2 separate regions of the Homo sapiens genome follow, and region 1 is linked to region 2. Evidence: promoter capture Hi-C in human tissues and cell types (Jung and others, 2019). All regions are on one chromosome and are shown on one strand. Each heading gives the region's core, a stretch centred on a gene start or on the middle of the fragment in contact. The rest is flanking DNA. Distances are from core to core; before and after follow the strand shown.

Evidence for each region. The method cuts DNA at HindIII sites, captures the fragments that hold promoters and counts their contacts. A contact is called where the count stands out against the background at its distance.
Region 1: a contact is called between a fragment that was not itself captured here and the fragment with the promoter of PHF11 in region 2, in 1 of the 25 tissues and cell types used here (dorsolateral prefrontal cortex).

What each region holds. Positions count from the first base shown.
Region 1 is chr13:48,565,407-48,571,574 of GRCh38, reverse strand. It overlaps LINC01077 (long intergenic non-protein coding RNA 1077), which reads left to right. Exons shown (of 2, transcript NR_170270.1): 2 at 3,228-3,977. Among named protein-coding and RNA genes, the nearest start is that of LINC00462, 12 kb to the left of the region's middle. The HindIII fragment of the contact is 3,339 bases long and covers 1,150-4,488 here.
Region 2 is chr13:49,492,416-49,498,169 of GRCh38, reverse strand. It overlaps PHF11 (PHD finger protein 11), which reads right to left and starts at 2,217. Exons shown (of 10, transcript NM_001040443.3): 1 at 2,075-2,217. The coding sequence starts at 2,168. The region is part of intron 12 of SETDB2-PHF11 (SETDB2-PHF11 readthrough); the gene reads right to left. It overlaps SETDB2 (SET domain bifurcated histone lysine methyltransferase 2), which reads right to left. Exons shown (of 14, transcript NM_001160308.3): 14 at 3,167-5,754. RefSeq lists enhancers at 1,636-1,685, 2,176-2,415, 2,726-3,411 and a silencer at 1,876-2,155. The HindIII fragment of the contact is 5,353 bases long and covers 1-3,986 here.

The DNA of each region.
Region 1 (6,168 bases), core at 1,570-4,069, 930 kb after region 2:
TGTCTGTGGAGTGGGCGGTGTGGGGCCTCAGGAGAGGAAGGGGCCTGGGGTACTAGCCTTTTGATTCTGCCAAAACTTTAGAGACATTTCTCGAAGAACAAGCACACTATCTCTTTCTGTCTCTCTCAAAAATAAAAAATAAAATAAAAGAATTACATAAAACACATGGCAGGAAATGAAGGCTGTTGGGTTTTCTCCCACAATCTCGTGTAGATATTTTAGGCTCTGTGGCAGACAGAATGTCCTCCATCTGTCTGTGCTATTCACCATGCCCGACCCATGCCTTCAAGCTTCAAGCTTCGGATAACTTTTCTTTTCTTTTTTTTTTTTTTTTTTCTGAATTATGGTCTCACTCTGTCACTCAGGCTGGAGTGCAGTAGCACAATCATAGCTCACTGCAGCCCTCATCTCCCCAGGCTCAGATGATCCTCCTGCCTCAGCGTCTAGAGTAGGTGGGATTATAGGCATGCACGCGCATGCCTAGCTAATTTTTTAAATTTTTAATAGAGATGAGGTATCCCTATGTTGCCCAGGCTGGTCTTGTACTTCTGAGCTCAAGCGATCCTGCTGCCTTGGCCTCCCAAAGCGCTGGAATTACATGTGAGTGTTTTTAATGACTTTTTAAATGACAAAAATAATCATCACTTATGAGTGACATCTTTCTCTTGGGCAGCACAAAGAGTTATATCCTTCTGGTTAGCCCTGACCTTTCCCTAAATTTCATTCCACACAGGACTGTCGCATGGCCGTCGGTGCCTGTGTCTCCCCGTCTCCAAGCCTCCTCTCTCCCTCCCAGTGCCCCGTCATCTTCATCCCACTAGAAGCCCAAGCCTCTTCTAGTGACCCTACATTCTCAGAGCCCCGAAGCAGAGAACAGAAGCTGCTTCTACAGCCGCTCCAGACCCAGAGGCCAGACCTCACTTGTGAGCTGTTTACAAACACAGGGTCCTAGAGCCCATCTCAGACAGACCTGCTAAATTGGAACCTGCATTCTGATGAGACTTTAAGTATGTGAAGCACTGGTCTATATCATTCTCCTGGGGCATAGTTTGAGCTTTGTCTCCTCAAACTTGCATGTGACCTGGGACAGGTCAGAACACATCTCTCGGGCCTCATTTTCTCATTTGTGGGGAGGAGGAAGTAAAGCCACTCCAGGGGACAGTGTGATAAACAGAGCAGGCTGTGGAGTCTGGCCGCCTGTTGCACCACTAGGTCAAGTGACCCAAACTCTCTATGCCTCATTCTACTCATCTGCAAGATACCAACAGTAAGTACCCAACTGTTAGGGCTGTCACATGAAGGTGGAGTGAGAACATCTGTATTCATTTCCAATGGCTGCTGTAAAAAAAATTACTATAAATGTAGTAGCTAAAAACAACACAAATTTTTTAATCTTCCAGTTCTGGAGGTCAGAAGTCTGAACTGGGTTTTGCTGGGCTAAGATCAAGGTATCAGCAGGGCCAGGAGGGTCTAGGGGAGAATCTATTTCCTTGCTTTTCTAGCTCCTGGAGGCTGCCTGCATTGCTTTGGCCTGTGGCCCTCTTCCATCTCAAAAACTGCAGTGACCAGTCAAGTTCTCAAATCACATCACATCACATCACTCCAACATGTGCTCCTGTCCTTTCAGCTCCTTCTGTGACTTGCCTGCCTGCCACTGTTACCTGCAAGGATGCTGTGATGACATGGGGCCCACCTGGATAATCCAGGACACTCTTCCCACCTCACAGTCAGCTGGTTAGCAATCTTAGTTTCTCCATTGCCTCGTAACATAGAATATTTATAGACTACAGGGATTGGGGTATAGAGGTCTCTAGGGGGCCATTGTTCTACCCACCACACATAAAAGGACTGCTTCTGTGCCTGGCAAGTAGCACATGATAAATGTCAGCTGTTTTTCTTGTGTTCTGTGATTCTGAAGACAGCCTGCCCCACCACACAGGAGCAGAGCACTGGACTAGCTTTGTTTTTGCAATGAAGTGACCAAGACATTGTCAGTAGAAGCTTTCTCTTGTTCTGTCTTGTCTTACGCTCTCTAACTTTGGCTGCTGTGGCTGGACACACACGAATGTGTCTCCCTCGGCCTCTGGCAAGCCAGTCTTGGTGACCCACCCACCATTCCATGTCTGAAGATTGAGAAACCTTTATGTATTAACTATTCATGGTTGCTAAGTTATAGCCTCACTATGCAGTTATGGAATCCACTGCACCCATTTATCTGAATTCTTTCCTACAGACCACCCACTCTATTTTGTGCATTCATTCATGCGTACATGCACTCATTCATGCAGGAAATATTGAACGCTTATCATGTCCTAGGCGCTGGAGTTAACATGGTTGAGTGGTACTATCTCTGTCTCTCAGTAGAGGCCTCACTCCCTGCAGAGATGTTTTGTGAGCTACCAATGGATCCGGAGGAAAGCTGAATGTCTCTGAGTCCCCCAGGCCTTGCTTCAACAGAGCAGCGTCAAATTTTTCTGTTTTACATATTGGGGTTCTTGTAAGATTTTGTTTGAAAACAGAGCCTTCTTTCTAGTGCCTGGCACATAGTAGGCACTCATAAATGCAAATGAGTGTCTGGAGACTGCTGGCTCAGGACATCAACTGCTGACACCCTGGGATCCTCATTTCAGGCTCCTTTGTCACTAAGCCTGGAAACTCCTTTCCCCCCAGGATCTCCCTATATGTGTAACCTCCTCCTCCGACATTTATTGGCCTTCATTTCTGATTTATTTATTTATGTATTTATTGCTATTTCTGAGCCACATCTTTTGCCCTACTTCTGCTATTTCTGAAGCACATTTGGCCGTTCCTACCATCCTTCTCTCTCCTGTTAGCTAAATCCCATCTCATCATCATAATTGCATTCTACAAACTGCTGTGACGTCTCCTGCCTTCCCCAACTTCAATATCTCTCTCTCCAACCCCAGCCCACCTTTACCGGGAAAGAGGAGTCATGCTACCTTCCCCACCTCAGCCCGCCCTCTCTTCTCTTATTACCACAGGGCAGTGCAAATATCTAAGACTCTCACACAGCTCTTTGTACCCTGAGGCATTTGAAATTACTTGAATTAAGCTGCCCCATTATTTACTTTCAACAGCTTCTAATAACACTTTATATTCATAGTTCTTTAGAGTTTGCAAAGCTCTTTGACATTATCACATTTAATTTGAGCCTCAAACGCCCTTATGAGGTAAGCAAGAACATGACTTTTATTTTTGTTTTACAGGGAAGGAAACAGCCTCAAAGGGAACCAATGCTTTGCCCAAGGACACTTGGCACTAAAGCGGAAAAACTGGCCCCAAACCCAGATTTTCTCAAGTCCAGCACTTTCTGCACCGTGTGTTGGGCCTCAATTTCAAAGATGACAAAGCTTCAGGACCTGTTTCAGTTTTGTCTTACGAATGGATTTGGCAAAGAAGGCAGTACAGTTAATCCTGGCTGCAACTGCTGGAAAATTTGCTACACCCTCCTCAGTGCTAGCTGTGTATTGAATTTGGAACCTCAAACAAAGCTTGATAGAAGGAAGACAAAAAAGCTTCCGTTTACATTCCATTTTGGTTCCCCATTTGACTTCAAAGAAAGGAAAGAGAAGGAGGAAATTCACATTTTTGTCATTGTTACAGTCACTTTAATTATGCAACGTTTTGTTATGAAACACAGTTTTCTTTTTATGAAATAGTGCAGCCCTTTGGAAGCAGTGAAAATGCTAAGTTCAGAAAAATTTTACATGGCACACCATTGATCTGCATGATGATAGAAGGATAATTAAGATGCTGTATCTTAATTATCTGGTAGCAGAAATATGAGTCTCCTAGTCTCAAGACTTCAAACAGTAAGCAGTGGACTGTACAAGATCACGAGGCAGTCATCCCCTCTCTGCTCTGTTCCCTCTCCTCTACAATCCTTGGAGAAAGCTGTATAGGTTGGGTTGTCCTCAAAACCTTAGACATATGTGAAATACACAGGATTTTGGAAAGTGGTGTTTTTGTTTGTTTGTTTTTTAAGGTACTAAAAGAAATAAGAGATTGTACCTTCTGAGTCAGGCAAAATGAATGGAAACTGTTGAAAGCTCCTTAGGAAAAGGGATCACGGTAAAAGCTAATCAGGCTTCACATCAGCTTTCCCTTACTGGGTCACTTTAGGAGCAAAATAAGAAATAAATGATTACAAACTTGAACATGAGTCAAGAACCACTCCTGACTAGGGATCACTGATTTGAGTTAAAGAATGTAGAACGCCTTTCCATTAAAGGAAAAACTCTTTGGTTTTGAATTGGGAACAGGGGATTCAGTAAGATTCAGTCACAATTTAAATAAATATGTATTCTAACTATCTCTACTAAAGGGGCCAAGAAGCAGTAATATCTCAGTAGCAATGGACACATCTGATACCCAGATTTTGGTTTCTAAATATCATTGCACTGGGCATCTTGGAGAAACTGAATAGGTTCAGGGCTAGGAGAGAGAAAGTACAAGGTAAGCCTGTTCTGTACCAGAAAGTAGAAAAACATTCAAAGACCTATAGGTTTACGTAAAAAAAAGACATAAGATCTTGCAGGCCCAAACAGGGATAAGTGGCTCCCTGAGGAAGGAATCTAATGGACAGAAACAACTCTACCCACCAGTCATGTGGTTAATGTTATGTAAATGATGCTTTTGAAGCCACTTAAACCATACAAAGTTTTCTTTTCTTTTTTTTTTTTTTTTAAGAGTTTTGCTCTTGTTGCCAAGGTTGGAGTGCAATGGCGTGATCTCGGCTCACGGCAACCTCTGCCTGCCGGGTTCAAGCGATTCTCCTGCCTCGGCCTCCTGAGTAGTTGGGATTACAGGCATGTGCCGCCACCACACCTGGCTAATTTTTTGCATTTTTAGTAGAGATGGGGTTTTGCCATGTTAGCCAGGATGGTCTCGATCTCCCAACCTCAGGTGATCCGCCCACCTTGGCCTCCCAAAGTGCTGGGATTACAGGCTGAGCCACCGTGCCCAGCCTATAAAGTCTTAAATACCCCAAATTAATCTTGGTCTTCTTTGTATATTCATTCTCCTCTTTCTTGCTCATAAGATTAGGTACTTAGTTTATATTTATGGATTTGATTTAGTTTTTTATTGTTTTTTTTTTTTTTCATTGAAAGGGACTTTTGGAAAGTAACCAATTATTTGATCATATAAATAATCACCTTGAGGGTTATCTGTTTTCCAACTTTAGATTTTCCTATACTGGATTTCCTAAAAGCAAAGAATATACACTGTACTCATATATGTACGTGTATATTACAGAACTAAAAACTATAAGTGGTGGTGTATGAAGTTTATAAATGAATTTAGGTAATTAATGGGAAAATTAGAATGAAGTTCCAAACATATTGCAATTTGTTTAATAGATGTTTGATTCAGACATCACCTAAAGTTTTATATTGTATTGTAAATATATTGAATAAGCTTTAATAACGAGTACAATTGAATTAAACATATAAAGTTTCTCTCCATCATCCCCTAACGCACTCCCCACAGAAGACTTACAGGCCTCATAATAACTAAGGGCCTGTGTGTCACAGACCCTAGGACACAAAAGGCAGGAATATCTTTGATGAGATTATCACTCTCTAGTACCTCCTCCGAAATCTGGAGAATCCACCTGCAGTACCTCTGAGATGAAGGACATTTTGATTTGATGTGGCAAAGTCAGATGAGCCACATGAAATTTCAAGAATACATTTCTCACGTTCCCAGTTGCAAGCATACCTGTGAAATATAGCCTAATAGATGGAATGTTACCTGAAGCCTACAGAAATTAAAGGCTGATGCCTCATGTTGTCCCTGGGCTAAATCTGTGGTCCTCAGAAGACTGACCTCACCAGCATGCCTCATCTGGGGCACACGCACATGCACACTCACACTCATGCTAACACACTCACACATACCTATGTTTCCCACTCCCTGCTCTGGCTGATCGAGTTGCTTGTGTGCAGACTGTTTCATCATTGCAACTACTACTTGTTTTCTGGTCTGTACCTTGGCTAACTTGAGGAGAGCCACTTTTTTCTGTGTGCAGATATGAGAAAAAGCCTGAATTCTTCCTTCTGGTTGAATTAGTGACTACAGGAGTTTCTTACACTCTACCTAAGATCGGTGAAATAATCCAAGAATTACCCGACTCAGGTGCAGTTT
Region 2 (5,754 bases), core at 968-3,467:
TACTACTACTACTAGGCCAACCAGTCTAGGCACTAAGGATAGAAGAGAGTAAGACGAATTTACATGCCAGTGGCCAGTGGTAGAGACAGGCATTAAACAAGTTTTGTTTTGTTTTCCAGGTAGTGATAAGTACTATAGAGAAAGAATAGAGCAGAAGGAGGTAGAGAGTGACAGGAGCAGGGGCAAGGGGTGCTCTTTTAGACAGGATGGGCAGGCAAGGTTGAGGGAAGATGTATATGAGCAGACACCTGAATATGATGGGGAACTGAAAATGGGATAATGTGGCAATGAGTTTTCCTTGCAGAGAATAGCAAATGGAAAGATCCTGAGGCAGGGACAGCTTTGGTGGCTTAGAGGACCTACAAGGTAGCAGGGTAGCAGAGTCATTAAGATGGGCAGGAGTCAAATCAGATAAGGACATGGGGTAAACTGCAGGCCAGGCTCATAGATTGTTCTGAGAGTCATGGGAGACTATTGGTGGGTTTTGAGTAGGAGAATCACATTTGCTTTTTGTTTTTCAAAAAGCATTTTGGCCGCTCTGCAGGCCTGCCTGTATTAAAGGCTAGAATAGAAGCCAGGAAAGCAATAGTCCAGACAGAAGATCATGATGGCGTAGGCTTGGGTGGCAGTAATGGAAGTGGTGAGAAGCAGTCAGGCTCCAGATACAGTCAGGCTGAACACAGAACTGGCTGGCCCGACTGATGCATTAGAAGGGGTGTCCGGAGGAAAGAGAGGCCCTGAGGAGCCACTAAGGTTTTTGCAAGGAGCACCTGGGCGAATGGAATGGGCTGGTGGTTGAGCAGGTTTGGAGTACCTGAATACAGTGGAGGAAACAAGAATTCTCTTTGGGACATACTCAGTTTGAGATCATTTCAGAAATGGAAGAAGTTGGTTATACCAGTCTGGAGTTTGAGGAAGAGGTCAGGATGGAAGCGCATCTCCCGTGACTTACCTTACAGTCCATATGTATACCAATGAATGAAATATCCAACTGATTGGCTTGTGGTTGCCACGTATGATGTTTACGTGTGACGTTTTGTGGTTTGGTGCCTTTGTGTCATCCTCTCTGCTGGGAACACCCCTTCAACTTTTCCACCTTTGGCTGAGTCTTGCCCTTTAAAGGTAAGCCCATGAAACATGGAGAAACCCTCTCTACTAAAAATACAAAATTAGCTGGGCGTGGTGGCACATGCCTGTAATCCCATCCACTCGGGAGGCTGAGGCAGGAGAATCGCTTGAACCCGGGAGGCAGAGGTTGCAGTGGGCCGAGATAGCGCCTTTGCACTCCAGCCTGGGCAACAAGAGTGAAACTCCTCTCAAAAAAAAAAAAAAAAAAAAAGGGTAAGCCCAGCCATCCTCTCCTCAAAAAGCTTTCCCTGAAGACTGGGAGTCAGGAGTCTCTCATCTGTACCTCTGTGGTTCTGACCTCCTCATTAAAGTTGCCTAGTAGAGTCTCTAGGGCAGGGTCTGCCTAACTCATCTTTGTATGCTCAGGACCTTGCCCTGAGCCTGGCACACCGTTTGGAGCTATACACACACGCAAGGGCAGGAACCCATCAGAAGACCCACCCACTCAAGTAGAGGGCCGGGGAGGACTGGAACGACTGGAGAAGGGGAGACGGGTTCCAGTCACGTCCTCCGTGAACGTGAGACCCAGCTCTTCCCTCAGGGCCGCCCCCTGCCTCACCGCATCAGGGCGCCCCTCCACTGTCCTGGTTTACCGGTGAGCGGAGGGGCGCTAGGAGAGTTGACATCGGTTGTGGTGGAAGCACTGGGCTGTCACCCGCGGGGGAGGTAAACCGAAGCGTGCCCACCACTCGCGCGAAACCATGGGCAGTCAGAGCCACCTGTGGAACTGGCCTGGGCCGCGCCCTGTCCTCTGGCCCCCTCCCCCACCAACAGGCACGCGAGTGGTGAGCCAAGTTCGTCCAGCGCCGCCCCGGCGTCTAGGGCCCCGGCCCGGAGTAGGGGCAGGTCGGGCCCCCATGCGGCCACGACCGGAAGGCAGGCCCCTTGACCGGGCCCGTCGCTGCCCAGCCCCGCCCGCCCGCCCGCCCGCCCCCGCGGTACACACCGGTGGGAAGGAGGAGCGCCTCCTGCGCGGGCCGGGCCTCCGGGCTGCTGGCGCCGAGCACCCTCTCGGGCCGGGGCGGCGACGCCTGGGCCATGACTGTGCTGCAGCTGCGGGTGGCGGCCGGATAGCGAGATCCCGGAAGTGCCCCAGCTGCACTAGGTTTCGTTTTCTTAAATCTGGGCTGTCGCTTTGAGTCACTAGCCGGCCCGGGGAAAGTTGGGTGTGCAGAGAGGGGTTGTCACACACACTGCTCCAGATTCCAGTCTAGTCTTAATTTGAATAGCTTAAAAAACCCAAACGCCGGGAGCAGTGGCTCACGCCTGTAATCCCAGCACTTTGGGAGGCCGAGGAGGGCGGATCACGAGGTCAGGAGTTCAACACCAGCCTAACCAACATGGTGAAACCCCGTCTCTACTAAAAATACAAAAATTAGCTGGGCATGGTGGCGGGTGCCTGTAATCCCAGCTACTCCAGACACTGAGGCATGAGAATCGCTTGAATCGGGAGGCGGGGCTTGCAGTGAGCCGAGATCGCGCCACTACACTCCAGCCTGGGCTACAGAGCGGGACTCCGTCTCAAAACAAACAAACAAACAAACACACACAAAAAACAAACAAACAAAAAAACCCCAAACGCCAGGCTTCCCTACTCCACCCCCCACAACACAGCGGGAGAAACAATCACTCTCCTGAGGGTTCCTCCTAAAAACTATCATACTGGCCGGGTGGGCGCGGTGGCTCACGCCTGTAGTTCCAGGACTTTGGGAGGCCGAGGTGGGCGAATCACGAGGTCAGGAGTTCGAGACCAGCCTGGTCAACATGGTGAAACCCCGTCTCTACTAAAAATACAAAAATTAGCCGGGCTTGGTGGCGGGCGCCTGTAATCCCAGCTACTCGGGAGTCTGAGGCAGGAGAATCGCTTGAACCCGGGAGGCGGGGGTTGCAGTGAGCCAAGATCGCGCCACTGCACTCCTGCCTAGGCGACAGAGCCAGACTCCCTCTCAAAAAAAAAAAAAAAAAAAAAAAAATTATCATACCGAGTTTGGCTTAAATAAGCATATCTTAAAAGGACGCAGAATTAGCCGATCCTAAATCCAGTTGCCAGTAGCAAGCCTTTATTTAGCACCCATAGGGTACAGAGCACCATACAAGATGAGGTTTTCAGTGAATCTAACATAAATGCATATAATTATAGTTAAAAAATAAGTTGTTCTGGAAAAAAGACATATAATAGTTGGTGGTTTGCTGAGGAATTAAAGGAAAACTGGAGGTCTTCCACTTTCAGCAGGTTGTAAAGAGGAAGACTGCCAACTAGGGATAGCAGAAGAGAGAACATTAAAAAGGACAATTTGTATAGTCTTGACAACTATGAAATGAATTGCAGAAGAGTGTGGGGTCTGCAAAACAGGGAAGTGAGCAGACAGACCCTAGCAGCCAATTTTTAAATTTTTTTTTGCCCTCCATGCAGGAGGATGAAAGAGTATTTCTTGCCAGGCCAAAATGAAAGGCCCTTTATAAAGAGACTGACATTAGGGTGTTCCCCAGCAAGATAGCTCAGGTAGGTCATAGTAAAACAAAGAGCCCTTTACCACACTCTCAGCTTATAGTAAGCTTTTTGGTGTTCCACACTTAAATATGAGTAGACTACCAAGACCATTAACTCTGAGGAAAGCCTATAATGTGAACGACCAAAACAAACATACAGGGGAAACAAAGAAACAAACCCTGGAGGACACAGATTATGCCGAAAGAATACAGAGATGCATGCCTGTATGTGTATGTATACGTGTGTGCATATACATACATAAACACACAAACATCTTCAAGGAGATAAAATACTGCAACCATGAGCCAAAATAGGATGCTATTAAAAAAAAAGAATATTCGGAGAAGGGGAGCTCTTAGAAATTAAAAATATGAGACAATATGAGACTAGAAAAATAAAATGCAACAGATGAACTGGAAGATTAAATTGAGAAATGCTCCTAGGAAAAGGTCCTAGCAAGAAGACAGAGCTGAAAGTTAAGAGAAAAGATAGGAAAATTAGAGATCAAATTCTGGAGGTCTAACATCTGGAAAACAGGAATTCCAGAAACAGTGAAGAGATGGGAAATCATTAGTTTCAGACGGAATGATCCCACCAGGCACCTAGTACAAAGGATGAAAATGGACTCTTAACAGGGACAGAACATTGAGACAAAGATAAACCTATAAGCTTCAAGAGAGATAAAAATGGATTATATATGCAAAAGAGAAGGAACAGAATGGCATTCAATTTCCAGTAGTCACCCTGGAAGCCAGAAGACAGATTTTCAGACTCCACAGCAACAGCACTGAAAGCTAGCAGATGTCTTCAAAACTGGGCATGGAGACCACTAAAGAATCCTATACCTTGCCAACCAAAACAGCAATCAGGTATAAGGGTAAAATAAAGACATTGTCAAACACACAGAGATTCAAAACATTTACTTTTCATTTTTCCTTTCCAAAAGCTATTGGAAGAGCTTTACCAATATGTGGAAGAGTAAACCAAGGAAAAGGAAAATAATGGCATCTAACTGGAAACAGATCCCACATAAGAGACAAAGTGAATCTCTGGGGTACTGATGGAAGATGATGGCTATGAACCAGTCCAGACTAAAGCAAATCAAGATTTTAGGAGAAATTTCTCCAAGAAGATAAAACTGACAGAATACCTCATATTTCTAAAGGTCAAATGGACTCCACAGGCAGAGCTCAAAGAAATACTGGCTGATCCATAATATTCCCTTTTGCACAAAAATGGTTCCCATACTGATCAAGCTTTTTTCCCCCATTTCATTTTAGTGCATTGCCTGAAATTCCTGCGTCTCTATGGTGAATAAATGGATTTCTCAACTTTCTTCATCTGTAGGTTGCTGGGCTATGTTTTGCTCCTTTTCCTAGCTGTCTGGTTTCCCAGTCTGCTTGGGCTTCCCAGTCCCCTTTTCCACTAGATAGATGATCACGGCCAAGTAACCTATGGCAAAGTGCTTACTCTTTGCCTTTTTTCTGTAAAAAAAAAAGATTTGCAAATCATGCCCAGGAGATACCAAGGGGCTGTTTCAGATTTCATAGTTCAGAATTGTTTTCGTGTGTGTGTGTGTGTGCTGTTTTTTTTGAGAGAGAGTCTTGCTCTATTGCCCAGGCTGGAAGTACTATGGTGAAATTATGTCTCATTGCAGCCTTGACCTTCTGAGCTCAAATGATCCTCCCACCTCACTCCTGAGTAGCTGAGACTACGGGCACATGCCATCATGCCAGGCTAATTTTTGTATTTTTTGTAGAGACAGGGTTTTGACATGTTGCCCAAGCTGGTCTTGAACCCCTAGGCTCAAGTAATCCACCTGCCTCGGCCTCTCAAAGTGCTGGGATTACAGGTCTGAGCCACCATACCTGGACTTCTTGTGTTTTTTAAGTGAAATTTTTGCCCAGTACAATTACTTCTGGCCTAAATAAGCAACGTGTGACTACTTTCTAGGTTTCCTTTTCAGTAACTGTATCTCTATCTAGAACAAAAATATTCAAGTTCCTCCAGGTTTCTATTCCCTCTTCTCCTATCTGTTTGTATAGAAAGAGTAGAGAAAATCTGTGGGAAAGAAGACTCATTTCAAAGAGCTTGCCAGAATCTTACTTACAGAAGAGCTTCTCCCTCTCCCCACT